2 separate regions of the Homo sapiens genome follow, and region 2 is linked to region 1. The links are contacts of gene promoters, found by promoter capture Hi-C in blood cells and fetal thymus (Javierre and others, 2016). All regions are on one chromosome and are shown on one strand. Each heading gives the region's core, a stretch centred on a gene start or on the middle of the fragment in contact. The rest is flanking DNA. Distances are from core to core; before and after follow the strand shown.

Region 1 (2,843 bases), core at 331-2,830:
TTATATACTAGTCATGTCAATTAGTATTACTGCTTCACAGTTCAACCCTAGGTAATCCCAATCTTACCCTCTGTTATGAATTTACACTAAGCTTCTAAGAGACTTAGTTAATAGCTTGCCAGAAAGGATCAAGAAATCTCAACCTATAGAAAGAGAAAGTTATTGCTAATATTTCTAAGCTACTTTAAAGTTTCTCAGAAATCCCTGTAAGAGAATCCTGTTATAATGCTACTGGTGGAGGCTAATCCTCACAGTGGCCTTATGGAGGTAGATTCGTCACTGGGCAATAAAAGAACACAGTTTGACCTGTAATATGATTGAAGCTGTAATAAAAAAATTAAATAATTTTTTCATGGCTGCTTCATTCAAATTCCTTCAGAATGAATTCCAGTTAAGTGGTTTATCATAAAAGTGCAAGTATTTCTCAGAAGTTACCACAATGTTTTCCTGATAAGAATAACACGAAGCAGACATATTTTTCTCTTTCTCTTTTTCTTTTTTTTTAATTTGAGATGGAATCTCGCTCTGTTGCCCAGGCTGGAGTGCAGTGGTGTGATCTTACCTCACTGCAGCCTCCACCTCCTGGGTTCAAGTGATTCTCCTGCCTCAGCCTCCTGGGTAGCTGGGACTACAGGCATGTGCCACCACACCCAACTAATTTTTTTTTTTTTTTTAGTATTTTAACAGAGTATTTTGTATTTTTAGTAGAGACAGGGTTTCACTATGCTGGCCAGGCTAGTCTCAAACTCCTATCCTCAAGTGATCCACCCACCTTGGCCTCCCAAAGTGCTGAGCCACCGGGCCTGGCCCAAAGCAAACATGTTTTTCTATTCATAAAAATAGTACTATACCTTGTAGGTTACTGTCCTGAGCAAGAACTCAGAATCAAATAAATCATAACTATGACCAACAACCTTAAAAACAAAAATAGCTATAAAACAATATAATAGTAACATTTTGTTCCAAGTACTAAAATACAGACATAGGTGTGCTATATAAGCACACTGATTTTCAAGAGCCTCAGTTTATCACCAAGTCTATACTGCAGAGCTGGTCCTCTGAGTTGTCCAAAGTTTTATCTAAAAGAAATATTACCTGTTCTAACAGTAGTGATGATTTTGCTGACATTCTTAGAATTTATAAGAATTTGAGGGGGAATTATCCCTCTTCTTGGCCTCCTTGGATGGCCAAGGATAACTGTGAAAAGTTTAGACACTGATGTTTAAACTGATGTCTTAGTTTTCTTTCAATAAACTTTAATGCCAAATAGAGGTATCTTTAATCATCCACTCCACTGACCTCAGAGGTAAGCTCTTCAAAAGCAGCCGATAGTTATGCTGTGCTCCTACCAAATCATGCTTCTGGAAGTCAAATAGATGAATCCAGAAAGTGAAAATCAAACATAATATGTTTCACATAATAAATAGTGGCAAAGTTCAGGGCAGAAATGTGGTGGCAGCCATAGAGCACCACAGCTACTAATACAGAATGTTCTTTCAAATCCTCTGTCTAGATCCCCATTGAGTTGCTATGGTTGATAATGACAGACAATTCCAGAATCTCATCATATAGTGCATGGCACGCACAGAAAGAAACAGAAGGGGCCAGGAAGCCTCCGGGGAAATCTGAGGGCAGTCATTGGCTAACATGGAAGGGCTCACAAAACAGGCTTCCTCCAGAGGTTCCTTTAAGGGCAGTAAAATTTCCCAGAACTTGAACCCATAACTCCACACTCTGAGACAAGAATTTCCTCTACTCCTTTCAAGGATAAATGAGGTAAGAGAACTCGTTTTTGATGATAGTCTGATGTTCCTTTTACCCAACATAGACAAACAGTCACATGGCCAAGTCTGGCAGAGAAGAGGAGGGTCGAGGGCAGGCCCTGGTCTGCCCCCACGCTCACCTGGTGGATGACGTAGATGCCATAATCCAGCTGCTGCCTCTGCAGGAAGGGATGCAGATGTTCCAGCAGGTACATCAGGTGTTTCTCTCTGTTCCGGTGGGGAACGAGGATGGCGACCCTCTGTAAAGCTTTACATTCCTGAGGGCGATACCGGCCTCTGGACACTTTGGGATTTTCTGCCTGTACCTCTTCCAAAGTGAGATCTGGTTTGAAAATGAGCTTGCTCTGGCCTCCTACAATGAACATAGGACACAGACAATAACAGTAGCTACTTCAAAAAGTGTTGAGGTTTACACGAGCTAATATGCATAGAAAGAACACTGCCCAGCTCACAGTGAGTACTACAAATGTCAGCTTTTATTATGATTACTTTAAAGGCTCATTTAGTCATGATAATGGCCAGAGCATCATGTCACTAAGGTTACTGGCTGCAAAAGCAAGTGGTGGATATATAATATAAGCATTTCCTTGTGGCTGGGTAATCAACTTGCTCTATGATCCATCTGTAAGAGGGAATATCCTGGTGAACTCTGGTAAGAGCAAAGGGCAGGGCTAGACAGAGTAACTTCAACTTTGGTCTATCCTCTTTTCCTTCACCAAATTCCAGGAGGAGGGGAAAATCTCTTAAATATCAACAGCATTCCACAGAATCAAGCTCCTGGACAAGGCACTCTTCCCACCCCTTCCCTAAACTCTGGAACCACCCTGGCTCCCTGTAAGCAAAGCACTAAAAAGAAGTAGAAACCAGTCTCCCTCCCTAACCCAGCTGTAACAGGTATGTGTGGCACTGCAACAACTCTCCCATTTTGCCACCACAACAGACGTTTCCAATCGAGCACAGTATTTGCTCAGTGTCTGGAAGCAATCCAAACAGATGAAACCCAAAGCCATCCACAGGAGGAAAACAGCTCAGGTTTTTTTGTTTGTTTGTTTCTAAATT
Region 2 (3,142 bases), core at 632-3,131, 80 kb before region 1:
ACTTGAACAACACTATTGACCAATTAGACCTAACGCATATGAAGAACATTCCACCCAACAAAAGCAAATACACATTCTTTCCATGGAATATTCTCCAGGATAAACCATATGGTAGGCCACAAAACAAGCCTTAATATATTTTAAAAGATTGAAACCATACAATGTATCTTCTCTGAACACAGCAGAATGAAGCTAGAAATCAATAAGAGAAGGAAAACTGGAAAATTCATACATATTTGGAAACTAGACAACATACTTTTAAACAACCAATGTGTCAAAGAAAAAAAAATCACAGAAAATGAGAAAATATCTTCAGATGAATGAAAACATAACACCAAACACTTGAGAGATGCAGCAAAAGCATCAGCTCAGAGGGAAATTTGTAACTATAAAACAGCTACATTTAAAAAAAAGATCTCAAATTGATAAATCATCATTTTGTAAAATATATACATACCTATAGATATAGACACATAGATTTGCATGGGGGTATTTCCAGAAGGATAAACATCAAAATGTCAATACAGGTTATCTCTTGAGTGTTTGGGAATTTTTTTCTTTACGCTTTCTTTTTTATATTTCTATGATTATTACATTTAAGTTATAAAATGGAAAAATAAATCTCCAAAACCAATAGCACTTTGAAGCTACAAGCCATAGCCCAAGACCTATTTTACTCTAAACACAGTATCCAATGGTGTCATGCATTTTTAAATAAATAAGGTAGATAATTCATAAAGTGACATTCAACAAGCACTTCTTGAGCACCTATTATGTTCTAGGCACTGTTACATAAATGACTTTACTTCAGTGTGCTTAGATTCCCCTTTCCATTCCTAAGTATGGTGTCAAGTGTATCCACTCTCCTTTGTCACAAGTATTTGAATTTGGATTTTAAGTCTCATTTCTAATTGTTTAATGCAGTTAAATCCCTACTAAAGGAATATCTGGCATCACACTACCAACCCTTGGCCTGCCTCAGTGATTTCAGGCTTTGCAAGGTCAAAGTAATTTGTCTCATCAATCACCACCTCTGTACTGGCCTACTCCTGAAAGTAGACAGCCTACTGACTCTGAGGTGCATTCTTAAGGTTGATTGCAAAGTGGGAGGACCAAATCTCAAAAACTGGGCCCCACTGGCCAACACTATCAAATACAAATTCTCCACTTGCTAAATATTCCTTCTGGTATCTTTCTCCCACTTTCCTTACTCCCTTCCTTTCTGGAACTCTGATTTGGCCTCCTTCTAACTCGCCTCTCTGCTGTAAGACCACTAGATGGTGCAGTTTTAGAACCCATTCTCACTGGATCTTCTCTCCTCTCTCTGGCTCTCCCGCCACAGATCACATGTCTAATCCAGCAAGAAAACACCTTGGGGCAGGAGTTTCCACTGCCAAGACAGCTATACCCAAAGGGGATGGCAATAGCAACAACCTCTGTTCAGTTTTGTGGTCCTCGTGCAGCTGGTTGTGTGTTCATCTGTTGACATTTGGAGGTGCGGTGGGGGATGTTAATCAGAGGAGCAGTACCTGAGAGAGGGCCTCTTTCTCACACACTGCGGAGAACCTCTGTGAACAAGGAAGAGGGTAACACTCTAGGTGGCGATGCACGGAGCCCCGTGGCCTGGTTGCTCGGCAGGGTGAGGAGAAGCTGTAACTGCCAGAGCCTGAGAATCGCCCCTTCTCAGGACATGGCGTACTCCCTGCGCTCGCCTGCACACTGCAGGGTCAGCTGACTGCCGTCCCTCCACTTACAACAGCGGGACGGCCACTCTCCCTGACGCACGCAGTGACCCGAACAAAGCCCGTGGGAATCATGGGGCGTTCCTGGAGGGTCGCCTAGACGACCCAGCCCAACCCCACCCACAGTGCCTGGCAACCTAGACCAGTCAGGGACGCGGCAGGAAATGGAAGAGCCTCCGCAAGAGGCTCTGGCTGAACCCTTGAAACATGAAAGCCCAGCCGCTCCCTCAAGTGCTGGCCACACTAAGGGCCAGGAAGAAGACGACCAGAAGAACCAGGCCGAAAGGAAGGCAGATAACCACACTGCTCACAGAATAGCTGACCAGACTGCCCTAAGAGTGCCTAGCCAGGCTGAATCCAGCATATTTAGCCAAGCTACCAACGGAGTAGCTGAACAAAATGGGCATAGTACACCTGGTCAGGCTGGCCGCAGAGCATCCAACCCTGCTGATGTTTCTGACCTTAGAGCAGATGATCAGGTTAATCAAACACCGTCTGAACAGACTAAAGGCAAGGCATCTAGCCAAGCTAATAATGTACAGCATGAACAGAGTGATGGTCAGGTGTCTGGCCTGACGGAGGAAAGAACTGCTGAACAGACTGAACGAAGATTACCTACCCAGGCTGAGAGAAGAACTTCTGGGCAGATTGATGGTAGACTGGCTATGCCATCTGACCAGAGAGGTTCCAGACAGACCGACCACAGAATGGCAGGCCAGTCTGAGAGAAGAGCTTCCGAGCAGATGGACCGCAGAATGTCTGGCGAGGCTGAGCGAAGAACTTCTGAGCAGATTACACACAGATTATCCAAACTATCTGAGAGAAGACCTTCTGTGCAGATTGACAGTGGGTCATCCGTCCCATCTGACCAAAGTCCTTCTGTACAGATTGACAGTGGATCGTCCGTACCATCTGACCAAAGACCTTCCGTACAGATTGACCGCAGAATGTCAGGGAAAGTTAGGAGAAGAAGTTCTGAGAAGACTGACTACAGATTGGCTGGCCTGGCTGACCCAGGAACTTCTGAGCAGACTGACCTCAGATTGTATGGCCTCGTTGACCACAAAACATCTGTAAAGACTCACCACCAAGTGTACGGCCAAGCCACTGAACTAGCTGAACACCAGGCTATTGACCAAGCTCATAGTAATGCTGATCAACCTCCAGTTGACAATGCTCACTACACTGAATCTGACCAGACTGACCACTTAGCAGACAGACAAGCTAATCATAAAGACCAGCTGTCTTACTATGAAACACGTGGCCAGTCTGAAGACAGAATATTTCCCCAGTTAGGCAACAGCAAAGAGGACAAAGAGGCTGACTACAGAGTACAACCCTGCAAATTTGAGGATAGCCAAGTAGACCTCAATTCCAAGCCTTCAGTTGAAATGGAAACT

Evidence for each region. Contacts are between HindIII fragments. The CHiCAGO score rates a contact against its expected background, and 5 or more counts as called.
Region 2: the fragment with the promoter of TEX55 here is called in contact with the fragment with the promoter of B4GALT4-AS1 in region 1 in 17 of 17 cell types (activated CD4 T cells, total CD4 T cells, non-activated CD4 T cells and 14 more); the score reaches 30.0 in activated CD4 T cells.

The regions. Positions count from the first base shown.
Region 1 is chr3:119,224,906-119,227,748 of GRCh38, forward strand. B4GALT4-AS1 (B4GALT4 antisense RNA 1) reads left to right here and starts at 1,581. Exons shown (of 4, transcript NR_046574.1): 1 at 1,581-1,776. B4GALT4 (beta-1,4-galactosyltransferase 4) reads right to left here. Exons shown (of 8, transcript NM_003778.4): 4 at 1,904-2,136. RefSeq lists a silencer at 383-555. The HindIII fragment of the contact is 1,940 bases long and covers 90-2,029 here.
Region 2 is chr3:119,144,284-119,147,425 of GRCh38, forward strand. TEX55 (testis expressed 55) reads left to right here and starts at 1,882. Exons shown (of 3, transcript NM_152539.3): 1 at 1,882-3,142. The coding sequence starts at 1,907. It also overlaps a transcript of IGSF11 not described here. RefSeq lists a silencer at 1,139-1,433. The HindIII fragment of the contact is 11,642 bases long and covers 1-3,142 here.